6 separate regions of the Homo sapiens genome follow, and all the other regions are linked to region 1. The links are contacts of gene promoters, found by promoter capture Hi-C in blood cells and fetal thymus (Javierre and others, 2016). All regions are on one chromosome and are shown on one strand. Each heading gives the region's core, a stretch centred on a gene start or on the middle of the fragment in contact. The rest is flanking DNA. Distances are from core to core; before and after follow the strand shown.

Region 1 (2,724 bases), core at 87-2,586:
AGGATGCTTGAGCTCAGGAGTTCGAGACTACCTTGAGTTATGATTGCATTGCTTCATTCCAGCCTGGGCCACAGAGCAAGACTCAATCTCAAAAAAATCACTCAATCTTCTTTACCTAGAGTGTACATGTCTCCCTGCCACTAATTCTCAAGAGGAAGGTCAAAAAGTTGATAGTTGGGGCAAAATTTGTACTGAGTCATTCCTCTCTTTCATTTCCCTTGACTTCTTTCAGATTTTTCATGATGTGAGAGTCACACCCTAAGTCTGTACCCATCTACTCTTTTCCTGAACAATAAGATAATCTCTATATCTAATCTCTAATCTATTAGAGTTTCACGTTGTTGCTCTGGCTGGCCTTGAAACCTTGGGATTAAGTGAGCCTTCCGCTTTAACCTCCCCAGTAACGGGCATTGCAGGCGCCTGCAGCCACACCATTAATACTACTTTAAACAGCAAAAACAAGAACACGAAAATTAAATCTAAACAAAAAGTGCTTGCCAATCCAGGTATTTATGTGACGTCTAGTAAGTAGATCAAGTGCGTTGCTTTCTTGTGAACACTTGGTTCTTTCCTGCCACATCAAAGTGATTGAATTAAGACGTGTCAAGCTGTTAATGGCCCCCAGACTTCCGCTTCAGGAAACTGGAGATCGATGGTTTTTTGGCCGGATTTGCGAGCAGCTTGTCAGCTGTTTTTGCCCTCCCCTTCCCATCCATCCACTGCGAATGAGTATTAGGAATTCAGAAGCGTTGTTTGCTATTTGATCCTAAGGGAAACTACTGTACTAAATATATTCTTCTGATACATGTTAGCACCTCTAAAGTATCTGCAAACCATCAAGAGGTAGTTGCGAAGACTCAAAATCCTAAATCACGCACTCATCAGTACGCAGCTGTTGCGAAACAGCTCTTAAATTGCCACTTTAAACCCAAAGAGAGTATGTCTCTAGCCTCAGCTGCTACCTAATATTGATCAAGCACTCACTACGTGCAAGAGACAGGAACTGTGGAGAAGGCTGGGGAAAAAAGCGTGAAAACCACGAAAACATCAGAAGCCAAAACTCAAGAACCTCTACTAGGCTAACTGATTAGTGAAAACGTCGTGTTAACAGCAAACGCCTTGAGTGTAGCGCTCCTACTCCTAACCCCCGGCTCTCTACACGGCAATCACCCGAACCCACTCTGCCTGCCCTAACAGGCCTGAGCTGCCCGGCTCAGACTCCTACACCTTTTTTGCACCGCCCGGGGCTGGGTGTGGTCACGTGACAGGTTCAGACCAATGGGCAGGCCGCCCGCGGGGGGTCTTCTATAAAAGCGCCTGTCGCGCGACCGCCATTACAACAAAAACTGGCGGCGAGGAACTGCGGAGAACTGTTGCCCTGCACCGCTTCATTTTGTGCAGCCTGAAAGGGGCAATCACATAAGGTCGGTTTTGTAATATACAGGTAACATACAGGTAATGTACCCTCCACAGGGGGTGCTGCCTTAGGCCGGCCCCGAGGTGCGGCCTTGGGTGGGAACAACCGTTTTTTCCCCCCTCTCCCCTCCCCGACCCCATCAACATCGTGCGACAGTCCGGGCAGTTGAGAAGGCCACCCCGCTTCGTGCCTGCAGCCCAGGTGAGTTGCCAGTCGCTTCCCTTTGGCCTTACCAACTTCAGGCTCGTTGCCCCCAAGGGATCTTTTTCTCTCTCTCCCTCTTTTCCCCTAAATGTCTGGTTTTTCTTCAAGGGAGGGCTGGGAAGGAGGAGGTTGGGGCGAGGGAGTGGGAGGTCCAGTTGTCCAACTGCCTCCTCCCATTTTGAAAAATACTCATGGTCTTTGTAGTTCCTCTTAGGTCTTGGACTGGTGTGGATCGCTGCTGCCTGTACTGTAATTTTGGAAATGCAGGAGAAAGTACGGAGCGTTTAGCTTTAGCTGGCATTTTGTGTTTATTCTGCAAGTGGTCATTTGGGACGGGGAAGTTCGGGTTCTTGCTTCATTTATTTATTCAATTAACTTTATTAAGCCCCTGGAACGTCTGAACCCTCTTTTGGGTACTGCAGGATTGTGGTGGGCTTTACTTCAAGGCGCGCTGGCCTGTATTAAGAATTAAGATAGAGGAGGCCGGGTGCAGTGGCTCGCCCCTGTAATCTCAGCACTTTCGGAGGCCGAGGCAAGTGGATCACCTGAGGTCAGGAGTTCAAGACCAGCCTGGCCAACATAATGAAATGCCCATCTCTACCAAAAATACAAAAATTAGCTGGGTGTGATGGCAGGCGCCTGTAGTCCCAGCTACTCGGGAGGCTGAGGCAGGAGAATCGCTTGAACCCAGGAGGCGGAAGTTGCAGTGCGCCGAGATCACGCCAGTGCACTCCAGCCTGGGCGACAGAGTGAGACTCCGTCTCCCCGCTCCCCCCAAAAAAGAAAGAGGTATGTACAGGGACTTTGGGACTCAAGGGAAAGGCCTGGGTGGATGGGAGGGAATGAGAGAGGCTCTTGGGCAGAAGTGATAACTCGTCTTGATCTTGAGGGACAAATAGAAGTTAGACTAAAAAGTGAGGAGGGAAGTTCAGGTAAAGAGAAGTTTCTCAAAGGCATGGATGTATGTACACCGAGTAGGATGTGACAGTGGATAATTGCTTTTTTTTTTTTTTTTTTTTTTTTAATACAGATAGCTGCTATGGCTGGGCGATCTCAGAGGATCGCCTGAGTCGCTCACGCCTGTAATCCCAGCACTTAGGAGG
Region 2 (2,724 bases), core at 107-2,606, 500 kb before region 1:
ACCTCCACCTCCCAGGTTCAAGCGATTCTCACGCCTCAGCCTTCTGAGTAGCTGGGATTACAGGCGTGAGCCACCGTGCCCGTCCCAAATCTTACTTATTTCTGTACTGTGTTTTAAAATGCTTTTTATCACAGCATAATTATATTTGTTATTTTATTTCATTTTATAATCATCATGTATGCAAAGTGGGGTTGAGGCAGGGGAGGCATGTTGTTTCAACCTGAGTTCCTAAAATTGATGCTGTGACAATTCTTGGATGAAGCTTTCCTAGGCTAGTTTTGTCATGATAAAGGAATGTCTTATTAAAGTCTCTCAATCCTTGCCTTTTTAGAAATCATAATCAAAGTTCCTTTAAAGTTTCTCTAAATTTTAGAAAAGCATTTCTATTATGTATGAGGCTCTTTGAAGAAACCTATGATTCCAATAGCTTTTCACTTGAAATATTATTTCCAACTGTGCTAAATTTATAATAATTTCCAGCCCTTTTAATATATCTAACAGTTAACATTTATTCAGAGCCCTTACTCTATGTCAGATACTGTGTTTGGATTTTACACGAATTGTCTCACTTAATTCTCACAATAACCCTATTTGTGCCCATTATTCAAATAAAGAAACAGGAATCAAGGCAAAGCAAAGTGCTCATACAGAGAGCAAGTAGCAGGGCTAGGACTTGAAACCAGATCTGTCTGATGCCAAAGCCTCTGGTCTTCTACAAAATTACGGTGAGGTCCCACCAGTAACACAGTCCCATTTAGGGGTATTTTAGAGAGGCAAAGCATGGAGTCAGGTTGATTCCTTTGGGATACCTTCCAGGTCTCAGTACGGATTAGTATTTGCCTGCTTGCCAGAGATGAATGAAAATTGTACAAGAGGAAAACAGGTTAGTAGCTACTGCAATTCTGGGGTTATTGCACCGCAGTAGCTACCACGTCCTGGTATACGGCACCCTTGTTCTTTGGAAAGTGAGTTAAAAACAGCCATTCTTAATTATGGGTTTAGATGAAAGAGAATATGAAGCCTGGAGAGCCATTTTAAATGGTTTTGAGCATGTGGGTGTGGGGATGACTGTTTAAGGAGAATTGCCCCCTTGCCCCCAAACCCCTCCAATCCTCTTCACCCCAAGAGGAGAAAATGTCTACTGCCCTACTATTCATGGAAGCATCTGGATTTTCCTTTTTACATGGTCCTTCATGAATCAGACATCTCTGGGAATTTTTCAAAGTTAATTTGTTCCCAAAGGGAGTACAAGTGAATGGCATGCCTTCATATCCCGCTTTGCTGGTTTAAGCCAAGAATGATGTCTCTCAATAGCAGTGGGAGTTGAGTGTGTGGCTGAGTGCAGCACATGGTCCTTTAACTTTTATTAGAGTTCCATCCTGCAGACTGAGGTTGTCAGATGTCATCCTAAGTGTGTGTTTAATATTTCTGAGTTTTGAACTTTGACCTTAGTTTAATGTGGACAGGCCATATGCAGCTACTCGCTTTTAATCAATGACGACAACATTCCTCTGGTGTCAGGGTTCCAAGCCATACTCTGTAGGCATCAAATATTCCCAGAAAGAGTTCAGCATTTTCAGACTTAATTTTTTAAAGCCATCACTAATGGCTCTTGAAAAGAAAGATCAAACTAACATACTAAAGTAAAATTTCTGAGTATAAAATAACTTTTCAAAGGGTGTTTTGCAACACTCTGATCCAGTTCTTCCCCTAATGTTTGGTAGTATATATTTGCTTTATGCACACACACACACACACACACACACACACACACACACACACCCTTCTTTTAGGAGCAAGTCTTTGGTTTCTCAGCCCATTCTCATTATTCCACCCCCATTGCTATGCTGAAGTTCACCAAAGACATTTGATCCAGATACTGCTGAATACCAAGTTTTTTTTAGTTATATTGTTGTTAATCCAATGAAGTTCTTCATTCTCTTATTTATATAGAAAATTATACATAAATGCAGACCAAACATAGTGCCCCCTGCCATGGCAGGGCAGATGCTGCATAGATGCAGAGGATTTTTCCAAGGCTCCTTAAGGTCCCTAACAGGGAACACTGCTGCCAGTGACCATGTCTGCTCAGGTAGAATCTTGCTAAATTTGAGACACTTAACTCTATGCAGAGCTACAGCCATTTTATGCTTGGAATTTACATCACCATTCAGGAAGCGCCTACACACCTTTCTTTAAATAGTCTCTGGTCTTGGTTTCCATGTTAGCACACACTGCTGATTCTCCTTCTACTTTTTTGGCTATACTAAGTCTCTTATGTCAGTCTCTCATCCTCTAACCAACTAGTAAATGTTGGTATTCCTCAGAATTCTTTCCTAGGCCCTCTACTCTCTGTTCTCTTTAATATTTCCCTGAGGAAATATTATCAATTCACATGGCTTTAGTTATCTATACACTGACAAATCCCAAAGTTATCTCTCTGGTGCAGATTAAGCTTGCGAGTTAACATATCTGAATATAGAACTGCCTATAGGACATTTCAATTTGGATGTCTCAAAGGCATCCCTAAACCACTGAGTATGTCCAAAACGGATAACTATTATTCTCTTAGAGAACAATCATATGGCTCCATTACACATCGAGTTACTCAAGTCATAAAGAACTGGGGGGAGGGGAGGGTTATGACTCTTACTTTCACCTCATTCACCACATCCAATCAATCATTCAACTTCTTAGATGTGATTTATCATTGTCGTCATTTAG
Region 3 (2,724 bases), core at 102-2,601, 460 kb before region 1:
AAGGGAGAGGGAGTTGACCCATGAGGGACAGACACTAATGGATAAATATTTGCTTCCCCTTTTAAACTGAGGTGAAAAATTCTACAATACATTTCAAAAGCCTCCTCAGAAGACACTGCAGCATTGTGTGCCAGTCATCCACAGGAGTGGCTAAACCCTTAATATTTAATACATACTCATCTTGGCTTCTCCTCCTTCCTGTTTTGTATGCCTGCTCCCTGGAATCACATTGTTTAATAAATGTTGCTGGGCTTTGGGGGAACCCAGACAGACACTATCTTATATGTCCTAGCTTTAGCAATTCATATTTTAGTGTAAGTTAACATTCTGAATGCTTGAAGAGTTATTACTGCATCAGTGCCGGATGTACCAAAACTGAATAGTACCAAAAGTCTGGGATGTTGAGTTTTGACAGAATCCCAAAACATCTCAGGTGCTTTAAGAAGAATGTTTAGTCCCTATGTTATAGGAGGTTCTTGTATTGCTATAAAGGAATACCTGAGACTTGGTAATTTATAAAGAAAAGAAGTTTAATTGGTTCACAGTTCTGCAGGCTGTACAAGTGTGGTGCCAGCATCTGCTCAGCTTCTGGGGAGGCCTCAGGGAGCTTTTACTCATGGTGGAAGGCGAAACAGGAGCAGGCATGTCACGTGGCAAAAGCAGGAGCAAGCGAGAGCCAGAGGAAAGATGCTGCACACTTGTAAAGAGCCACATCTCTTGAGAACTCGCTATCACGAGGACAGCACCTAGGGGATGAGGCTAAACCATTCATGAGAAACCCACCCACATGATCCAATCACCTCCCACCAAGCCCCACTTCTAACACTGGGGATTACAATTCCACATGACACTTAGAGGGGACAACATCCAAACTATATCAGTCCCTATTATCAGTCCTATATTAATTTCTTTCATAGGACTTCCTAACCTCATATTGAAAAAGGTCAAATATAAAATCATAACCACAAAATGGCACGAAAGAGGGAAGTGGGCATATCACGTGATCACATTCATTTCTAAAACTGTCTATTCAAGGTTTACAAGAAAAAAGAAATTTTGGAATGCTTGTTGTTAGAGCAATTTTATGATAAAGTGCTCAATTTGTTCAAGGAAAATGTAAACTTTAAGAGAACTTATCCTTCACGTTTAATATTCATGGTAACTACTCATGAGTGAACTACAGTGGAAATGTGGTAGAAAGAACTCATTGGCCAGGGGTCTTGCTACAAGGAACTACCTTGTAAAGTTAACTTTCTTTGACAAGTTCCAGATGTGCTTCATACCAGAAATATTGAAACACAGGAACATAGTATAGATCACAGAGATGTGATTTCTTGCAATATAGAAGATGAGTGTTTAAATAATACTCATCTAAACACAGGATCTAAAAATCGAATATAATTTTGTCTGCTTACAGGATCTAAAAATTGAATATAATTGTGTTTTTAATTTTTATTTTTATTGGTAAGACTGCTATTTATTTGGGGTGATATGCTTATACATCACATGCTAGGAGACACTGTTCATTCTCATTCCTGGGCCTCTGTTTTCCCTTCTCTTTTATTTTTTGGTAGCCACATTCAGCCATTTTCTTAGCTATGTGATGGCTGGAAGAAACAGTGGCTATACATATATATATATATATATATATTTTTTTTTTTTTTTTTTTTTGAGACGGAGTCTCACTCTGTCACCCAGCCTGGAGTGCAACCTCGCCTCTCGGGTTCAAGTGATTCTCAGGCCTCAGCCTCCCCAGTAGCAGGGATTACAGGCTCTCACCACCATACCCAGCTAATTTTTGTATTTTTAGTAAAGACGGGGTTTTGATGTGTTGGCCAGGCTGGTCTCCAACTCCTGACCTGAAGTGATCCACCTGCTCTGGGTTCCCAAAATGCTGAGATTACAGATATCAGCCACCGCACCTGGCCAGCTATATATTCTTAAAACATACAGCTCACGATCTTCAGGGTGCTTAGAAGGCAAGGGATCCTTTTTAGCTCCCTACAGCATATTCTCTGAGATCACTGTTACCCTTTCTGAGAGATGACCACAAGGGGATATTTCTAGGTAGTGAGGATATAACCCTAGTTTTGTAGTACCCAGAGGACCTGCCAGCTTTCTAAAGAGGTGTCATAATTTGGAGCTCTAAATTTTGAGACATTTGTGGTACTCTAGCCTTTTCATGTGGCTAGAGAGAGAATAATGTACTAGAGAACATAAGTATCAACATAGAATTTGAACCATTCAGAAGGACTAGAATCATTGTTATTGAAGGATGTTGAAGAATTTTATTGACTTTACCACAACCCATTCCCAGCTACACAAGTGGCAGCAAGAAAAGACTCTGTGTGTCTTTCCCTTCACTTTAATAGAGGCACTGAGTATTGCTGGCTTCTCCTCCCTCCTCATGTCAAAATTAAATGCCAGTCACTGTCCATCCATGGTCATGCTGTTAACAAAGACTTCAGCAAAGAGACTCCTGCAATATTTCCTCCATCTCCTGCCTTGTGGAGGATCATGGGACAAGTGTATTTTTTCACATAGAAAGATTAAGCTGCTGCTCTCTTGTCAAGAAAAAGAAACTACCATTAGAAAGCACTAGTCACAATTCTGAGCTGTTGTAATTAACAAATACTAAGTAAATATTTGTGTGCTTTGTTTCTCCATATTAAACAACTGATGTATTGTATGGTAAAAATTTCTTCTGCACGCCTTAGTGACATT
Region 4 (2,724 bases), core at 146-2,645, 440 kb before region 1:
CCAGAGAGTACATGAAGCCCCAGAATAACCATGACTATATGCCTAGAGTGTCAGTTTTAATCCATGACAAGATATTGAAAACGTTTCATTTATGTGATGAATATTTATTGTCTGTTATATACATGTACTTTTTTAGGTGCTAGGGATAAATCAAACCATAAAACAGAAATTAACACTGTGGTAGTTAGACAATAGACAGAGAGTAAACAAAAGAAGTAAATACTGTGCTCAAAAGTGATTAATGTTACTAAGAAAATGTAAAAGGGAAGGGGAGATAGGAAGTATTGGGGAAGGAGATTGTAATTTTAGTGAGTATGGTTGCTCATAGCCTTCTGTAACATTTGAGCTAAGACTTCAAGGTGGTGAAGGAGTGACCTGTGCAGATATTTGGGGAAGAGCATTCCAAACAGAGGAAACGGCAAGTACAAAGACCCTGAAACGGCAAGTACAAAGACCCTGAGATGGGAGTGTGCCTAGCATTCAAGAATAGCAAGGAGGTCATTGTGGCTAGAATGGGGAAGGTAATTGGAATGAAGTCAAAGAGAGATGTAAAGAGGCTTTCTAATGGAGTGAGATGTGAAACCATTAGAGGTTTTGAGCACAATAGTGACAAGGTGACTTAGCTTTATCAGAATACTCTGTTTAAACTCTGTTTGCTATGTTGCAAGCCGACTGGCTACTATGTTACAGATAGACTCCAGGCTGGCAAGGAGTGTAGTTAAGGAGACTATTGGTATATTAAAACCAACTTGGATATATTATGCAGCAGAAAACAAAAGTGACTTAAAATGTCAAAATAGAAGCCTAGACCTTCATGTATAAAATAGAGGCATTTAAATAATTTTTAGCATATTATAGATTTTCGGGATCCTCCTCCAGTCCTCAAAGTCTGTTTCATTTGTCTGTCTTTAGTACTGTTTTCCAGCTTTTGACATGAATGCACTTTTCTGCTTTCTGCTGTCATTTCCCACTTCAGAATTTGAGGATATTGCATTCACTTTGGTTGCCAGGAAGTTTTACTGTTGTTTAAAATTGTTGAAGTTGTTCTGAAGTGACAGGAAACCTTAATAAACATTTTGATTTTTGTAAAGAGGAGTAGATGCATAATAAGTGAGTAGTGGTGTGGAAGTACCCTTAATGTTTCTCCTCCCTTTCACATCTGTTCTCCACTTGTCATTTTTCTGCTTAAAAACTTCCTATAGCTTTCATGTGCATTCTCTCTTGTCTTCCTCAGCCACATTCTATTTCTATTATTGTTATTATTGTTATTATTATTGAGACAGGGTCTCCCTCTTCCATCACCCAGGCTGGAGTACAGTGGCACGATCATAGTTTAGTAACCTCAAACTCCTGGGCTCAAGGTATCCTTCTGCCTCAGTCTCTGTAGCTGAGACTACAGGCCCGTGTTACAAAGCCCAGCTAATTTTTGTTTGTTTGTTTGTTTTTTAGCTTTTTTAAGAGATAGGGTCTCAAACACCTGGCCTCAAGCAGTCTTCTTGCCTTGGTCTCCTAAAGTGCTGGGATTACAGGCCTGAGCCACCGCCCCAGGCCACATTGTATTTCATTGTCTCTCAGCCCTCCCCCTACCCTAATCATCCAAGCCTTTTTTTTTTCTTGTTCCTGTCTTTACAGACGTAGTTAATTTTTCCTAAAATGTTTTCTTCCACTTTCACTACTTGGTGAATGCTTCAGAACAAAACTTAGCTGTCAACTGAAGGCTTCCTATCACCTTCAGAAATCCTCCCCAACCTAGTAGTATATACATTCTTTTATTACAGGTGTCACCTTGTATTAAGAATGATAACATGTTTCCTTTACTAGACCAAGCTCTTAGTGGCTGCATCAAATTTATTGGTTTTTTTTACATACCCATTGCTGAGCATTTTTTAAGACAGCGTTTATTTAAATGAATTAGTTCTAGCCAGGTGCGGCGGCTCACACCTGTAATCCCAGCACTTTGGGAGGCCAAGGTGGGCAGATCACTTGAGGTCAGGAGTTCAAGACCAGCCTGGCCATTGTGGTGAAACCCCGTCTCTACTAAAAACACAAAAATTAGCTGGGCGTGGTGTTGCGTGCCTGTAATTCCAGCTGCCCATGAGGCTGAGGCATGAGAATCTCTTGAACGCAGGAGGCAGAGGTTGCAGTGAGTGGAGATTACATCACTGCACTCCAACCTGGGCAACAGAGTGAGACTCCATCTCAAAAAAGAAAGAAAATTAGAAAATATATATAATCAGCAACACCTCTGTGAAATTGGGCAAATGATTTAACCTCCCTGAATTGAGTTTCCTTATCTGAAAAATCAGGATAATCATTCCTGCTCTGCCAAGTTCACAGTACTGTTAGGAAGACCTCAAAAGATACTGCATGTGCCGGTGCTTTGAAAATGTCTTAAACTTATGCTATATAGGGCTAGTAGAGCCTAGATACTGTAATAAAATCTGAAGACTTATCTAGTTCTCTTCTGTATCCAGTAGTTTACTGGGTTTTGTATTATTGCCTCCCCTTGTTTTAACTATGTACATTTTTATAAAGAACTGATACTTATTTAAAAGTAGCAATTTATCTGCAGTCAAGGATAGAGGATACTACTGGCAATTGGGACAAATTTTTAAAAATACTTTTTTACATGCTTGAGAGCTTTAGTAGGCCTTCTCTCTGAAAATATAGTGTGAATATTTAATACATAAAATTTTACCAAGCCTTTAAGATTTTGTATCTTTA
Region 5 (2,724 bases), core at 106-2,605, 420 kb before region 1:
ATAAAGGGAAGCTGCAGGACCAAGGTGAAGATTGATAGTCCAAATGCTTTTCTTTTTTGAGTTGTATATTTTTTCACACCATCTTAGATATAATTAGGTAGCTGCTGAAAGGAAAAGTGAATACAGAATTGACGGTATTATTGGAGATTTTTCCTCTGCGTAGAGCCATCCAGATCTCTGTATCCTGTTTTGACTAAGTCTTAGGTGGGTTGGGAAGACAGATAATGAAGTAGGCAAAGAGAAAAGGACCCAAGATAGAGGTTTATATTCAGAAATGGTATATATCAATGACAGCATATCAAACTTCCTATGGGAAAAAGTCTGGTGGGTGGTCAGCTGACAGATTTCCCATTTAGTAGTCATAGAATACAGAAATAGTTTAGGGACATGTATTCATTTTGTTATTTTGAGCATTGATAGGTCAGTATATCTACCTAATCTGTTTGGTAAGTATAGGATATATAAACCATTACCATTGATCTGTCTTATGCCATAATCTTAAAAAAAATTTGAATGCTCTTGAATTTGTATATTCAATAAAGTTATCCTTTTATATTTTTTATGTCAGACTACTCATTTGAAAAATAGCTTTTTTTTTTAATTGACAACTGGGAATATTTTTCTTTTGAGATGGGTGAATGGTGATATTCTTTCAGCAAATAGTATGTTAATGAAACAGTCATGTTAACATATATTCAGAAATTAAAGAGGAAGAAAAATTTACCCAAAGGGTAGATAAGGAGACATTCTCTAAGAAAGTTTAATATTCAGGGCTGTTGTTTTAACTTTCATTAATGGCAAAGAACTTGGTTGATATTGAGGGGGAAGTAAAAGGGAGCTAGTGTTTTTAAATATACCCAGTGTTACAAATTAGTTCTCGGGGAATTTCAGTCCCACTGAAGAATATTGCCTCAATTTTGGACAAATATTCCCAATGTGCTAAATCAGAATTGGCAGGGAGCTTTTATATGCGTATTCTTTAGATTTTTAAGCCTTCTGAAGACCATTTTAAATAATGGGAAATGTCTCTAAAATATTTGAATTTCTAAGGATAGACTAAGAAGGTAACTAGTTAATGCCATTTCCTCTTAATCAGCTATTTTTCACTGTCAGTTTTTAAAAATTCCTAGTGCTCAGGCTCGATAAAACTGTTAAGGGTATTTTCATTTAAAAAGCCTTAGACATTTAGAACTATTAATATAACAAGCTACAAGTATTGGTTTTTGAAGCAGGCTGAGCTCTCTGGCATTTTTAATGAAACTTCCTTATAAGGAGATGATTATAGTTGTCTTAATGACCTAAATATGTGGCTCAATAATGGTTATTCCAAAGAATTAATCATGGTTTACTTCAAGATAATGAGCAAGTCATCAAGTAAAACGTTAATATCTTACTGTTCCTGGCATCAGCATTTTAGGGACAAAATGGTGTTACAGATGTCAGAATATTGATTGCATAAAATCTTGAAACCCACAAAACTCGTAGGCTTAAGTCTTAGTAATTTCTGTTGTTTATGTAATTTCAGCCCTGCACGTCACTGAAAAGTTATTTATCTTAACAAACTGGCCAAATTTGGCGGGTAATGCTGTCTGCCAGTATCTGCAGATGTATTGTTTCCGCCTACATTTGTGCATGTTGTCTGTGGTCTTTAAAGAACACTAACACCAGATAGAAATGTCAACTCTGTTCAGATTTTTTCCTATGTTCGAAGAACTGATGTTGCTGATTCCTAATTTTGTCAAATTATGTGTCTGAACTGTCTTCCTTTCTTGAAAGGTAGATATTACCAAACGTATACCAGATAAGTAATCAGAAGTAGTTAATATTGTGTCAAGTTACAGCACAGTTTTCAACAAAGTAACCACAAAGGTCAGTGCTAAGGCAAATATTTAGTAAACGATGTTTTAGCTATCTAAAGTAAAAAGGCATGATCTTAGGAAAGTGATTGCAAATTAAAAGAGAGAAAATTAAAAAACTGAAGTTTGGAAAACAAGTAATTGCAACAGTTTCAAGAGTTTAATCTGACCTGATTTTTTCTTCTGTAGAAGACAATGAACTAAAAGGACACAATTGTTCTCGATCTCTGTTTTGAGTGCTTTAAAAAATTAATATATGGAAGAGTTCAAAATGGGCAAAATAAAAACTTATTTGGAGAGCATACGCATAGTTTTTTTATAAAGCAAGAACGATGACCAGAAAACAGATGTAAATGGTTTAGAATTTCTATTTAAGCATAAACCATGTGCAAAATTACTCTTCCGAATTTAACACATCATGTGTTAGCCATTAGCTGATTCCATCTTGGACCCTACTGAAGCAATTCTTTAAGGAAAATAACAGGCTTAGCACTAGAAAACAACATATGAAGGAAAATAGGGAATAAATACTTTATAGATACATCTCTCTAGTTCTAGATTTAGAGAATGCCAGTGTTACTCCAGCAGGCAACCAAGAAGATGGATCAAGGAATGGGCTTCTGACAGACATCCTGAAGAAACTGAACACTGTCAGCTGTGGAGTGAGTAGTACAAATCAGAAAATGAAAGATCCATTGATTTCCTTCTAATCAGAATTTTTGCCTATGTTCTTTATCCACATTCTATTGATGTGTTTTTATACATGTATTCAATTATGTATTTGCCCTTTGTGTAAATTCCTTCCATAACTTCTCTGAAGACTGTAGCACATGATCTAGAAATGACTTTAGCTAGGACAAGACCAAGA
Region 6 (2,724 bases), core at 139-2,638, 400 kb before region 1:
GCTGCCTGTGCTCTCTTCTGTCCCATGCTCTTCAGAGCACCTGCTACACTCCAAACAGGCTAATCCCTCTAAAACCCCATAAACCCACCATGCTCATCCCCCGGGCTTTGGCTATGCTGCCCCTTCCCTCCTGGAACGCCTTCCCACTTTCCTCTGCTTGTCCATATCCTGCCCGTCATTCAGCACCTAACTCCAGTTCTTCCTCTTCCACAAAGCTTTTCCTGATCACTCTGGCCCTCAGAGATATCTCTACAGCTGTACTCTGACTGCCACCCAATTTAGCACCTGATCACAGCGGGTTTGTACCATGTAATTAGTATAGGTTTTCCCTGGCCACTTGGATGTAAGAAACTTCACATTTATTTGTTATACATTATGATCTCTGGTTTGGCGCCAGCCACGAACACAATGAGAGAAATCCAGTATCAGCCACTAACAGGGACGCCCCCTCCTTTCTGAGGTTCCTGTAGTGGCTGTTGGGGCTGGCCTTTCTTTCAGCACACTATTATCACTGCCAGGTTATTCACTGTCTATGCCCCAAAGCCCATTAGGTAGGCAGTGCCGCTATGCTGAGCACAGTGCGACTTCTCAGCAAATCCTTGTTGACAAACTGACATAGGCTGTGCTAAGGTCCCCTCCTACTACCCTCCCAGGACCTGTTCTTTGTACCTCTAGGCACCGCGCAGTTTCCCAGTGCGCCTCGAGTCCTCGCAGGGCCGGGCAGTGGCCACCCCGGATTGGCTAGCCTTGCCCCCTCGTGATCATGGAAGTGGGCGGGGAGCGTGGTGAGCGGATGCTGCTGGAGTGCTTGAACCCCGAGGCCTGGAGCGGCAGTCAGCACCCCCACGCCGAGTCCCTGGCAGTCCCGGCCTTCCGGGGGCGGCCCTGGGGCCTCGGGCAACTGCATCCACGGCCCTGGAGCCCATCATGTCCCATGGTTCACGTTTTTCCGCCTGGAAACTGCATGCCTGTCTTTCTGCTTTGCCAAAGTTTCCTTCGCACGAGGAGGGCCCTGAATTACAGAAGTCGCTTTTCTCCAGTCAGTTCAAGCCAGCCTGGCGCGAGTCCCTCATTCTCCTTTGTCAACGAGGCAAAGACTCAGTTGTTCACCCAACTGTGTCTTGCTGGGGGGCAGCCCTTTCCCTGCCCTTCCCTCTCTCTCAGAAGCCCCAAGTGGGCCTTTCCCCGACCCTACTCTGAGCGCGTGGAAAATCTGCTTCGGGCGCAGATCTCGAGTAGTTGGCCTCCCCTCATTTCCGTCTTTCGCTTCTGCCCGCGTGGGGCCACTTTGGTATAGGTGGGAATTAAGCCGGGGAGGGAGGAGTAGGTCGGAACAGTTTGCAGCTGGCGGCTCGCTGATTGGGTGTTATTTTACAGCTGGGCAGAAATGACCGCGGTAGCACTCCTGGGGAGGCCTCTAAAGCTGCAGACACGATGTGTCGCGGGACCATCCAGTTCTGGCCCCGTGCAGGAGGACAGGACGCCGTCTGGTCGCTGCCCTGGGCGCTCAACATGGGAGCTGCCAGAGGAGAGCGCCCTGTGAGTGCCTGACAAATGGAGGTATTTCTTTCCAGGTTTTACAACCCGATGTATTTTCAGGGAGGACCTTCCTAGGTACCTCCACTTCTCAGTCTCTCAACTCAGCAGCCTCCATCCATTTCCACGAATCCGCTGGACTCGCTCCTGCAAAACACGGTGTGAAATTGACTTCTAACTGGAAGCCTTTCTTTTCCAACCCCATCCACTGCAATTCTTCTGTTTTCAGCACTCTGGTGTTCTGTGTTTTTTGTTGTTGTTGTTTTTGTTTTTGTTTTTTTCATGTGTTTAGCTCGGGCTTTGAAAGAATCTGAAATCTTATCTTTTAATTTCAAATTCCCTAAAGCCACAGAGTGCATCTTTCCCTGTCCCACACAGTGCCTAGTTCAGTTCTTGTCCCACAGTATATTAACCAACTGCCACAAAGCCTCATGTATGCCACACAACTAAACACCAGGACGTCTGAAGGAAAAACTCTAGAAAACTCTAGAGTGGCTCTTTGGAGCAGGAAGAGCTGCTACACTCCCAATGCCCTCTGAGAGCTGCCAGGTCCCATGATGCCTTCTCTTGTGTGTAGACTGAGATGTATTCATTAAGGGTAACACGGTGATTTTTTGTTTGTGCTCCCTTAATTAAAAAAAAAAAAAAGATTTGGTGGGAAAGGCAGATGGAAGTTCTTGAAGGGGGCTACTTCAGAGCAGGTCTTTCTGAGCCCCCTTGAAGCACACCGTGTGTGTGTGTGCGTGTGTGTGTGTGTGTGTGTGTGTGTGTGTGTCTGGGACCCCAGAGTCAATCCAGATGATGCTGATATAGTTACATTTGAGAACCAGTGGTAGGTAGATCTTTGCTACTCTAGTCCTCAGGCAAACAGCATCAGCCTCACCTAGGAGTTTTTAAGAAATGCAGAATCTCAGGACCCAGCCAGACCTACTGCATAGAAGTCTGCATTTTAACAAGATCTCTAGGTGATTGGTGTATACACAAAAGTGTAAGAATCCCTGCTTTAGTAATGACTGCTCTGGGAACAAGCTTAAACTTGGGCAACCTGGACCTATGGTCACCCATCCTATCAGGGAGATAGATGGTAGATGGTGGGCTAGGGACAGGGTGAGAGGAAATCTGAGCAGCCACAGATCTGGGGTCCTCTCCCTCCCAAACTGGCCCCTGATTTAGAAATATGGTCTCAAG

Evidence for each region. The method cuts DNA at HindIII sites, captures the fragments that hold promoters and counts their contacts. A CHiCAGO score of 5 or more calls a contact.
Region 2: a fragment that was not itself captured here is called in contact with the fragment with the promoter of BRDT in region 1 in 3 of 17 cell types (M0 macrophages, endothelial precursors and monocytes); the score reaches 5.2 in M0 macrophages.
Region 3: a contact is called between a fragment that was not itself captured here and the fragment with the promoter of BRDT in region 1, in 2 of 17 cell types (activated CD4 T cells and total CD8 T cells). The highest score is 5.1, in activated CD4 T cells.
Region 4: a contact is called between a fragment that was not itself captured here and the fragment with the promoter of BRDT in region 1, in 7 of 17 cell types (total CD8 T cells, naive CD4 T cells, endothelial precursors and 4 more). The highest score is 10.6, in total CD8 T cells.
Region 5: a contact is called between a fragment that was not itself captured here and the fragment with the promoter of BRDT in region 1, in 6 of 17 cell types (naive CD8 T cells, total CD8 T cells, M1 macrophages and 3 more). The highest score is 6.9, in naive CD8 T cells.
Region 6: a fragment that was not itself captured here is called in contact with the fragment with the promoter of BRDT in region 1 in 2 of 17 cell types (total CD8 T cells and naive CD8 T cells); the score reaches 6.7 in total CD8 T cells.

What each region holds. Positions count from the first base shown.
Region 1 is chr1:91,948,065-91,950,788 of GRCh38, forward strand. It overlaps BRDT (bromodomain testis associated), which reads left to right and starts at 1,337. Exons shown (of 19, transcript NM_207189.4): 1 at 1,337-1,618. The HindIII fragment of the contact is 8,652 bases long and covers 1-2,724 here.
Region 2 is chr1:91,451,168-91,453,891 of GRCh38, forward strand. No RefSeq gene overlaps it. Among named protein-coding and RNA genes, the nearest start is that of HFM1, 48 kb to the left of the region's middle. The HindIII fragment of the contact is 2,193 bases long and covers 261-2,453 here.
Region 3 is chr1:91,486,672-91,489,395 of GRCh38, forward strand. It overlaps LOC105378856 (a long non-coding RNA gene), which reads right to left. Exons shown (of 3, transcript XR_947599.4): 3 at 2,350-2,564. Among named protein-coding and RNA genes, the nearest start is that of CDC7, 13 kb to the right of the region's middle. The HindIII fragment of the contact is 3,637 bases long and covers 1-2,724 here.
Region 4 is chr1:91,504,749-91,507,472 of GRCh38, forward strand. The region is part of intron 2 of CDC7 (cell division cycle 7); the gene reads left to right. Among named protein-coding and RNA genes, the nearest start is that of CDC7, 5.3 kb to the left of the region's middle. The HindIII fragment of the contact is 3,462 bases long and covers 1-2,724 here.
Region 5 is chr1:91,525,203-91,527,926 of GRCh38, forward strand. CDC7 (cell division cycle 7) reads left to right here. Exons shown (of 12, transcript NM_003503.4): 12 at 1-562. The region is part of intron 4 of LOC102723436 (a long non-coding RNA gene); the gene reads right to left. Among named protein-coding and RNA genes, the nearest start is that of CDC7, 26 kb to the left of the region's middle. The HindIII fragment of the contact is 4,325 bases long and covers 1-2,724 here.
Region 6 is chr1:91,545,594-91,548,317 of GRCh38, forward strand. All of the region lies in intron 3 of LOC102723436 (a long non-coding RNA gene), which reads right to left. Among named protein-coding and RNA genes, the nearest start is that of CDC7, 46 kb to the left of the region's middle. The HindIII fragment of the contact is 2,350 bases long and covers 214-2,563 here.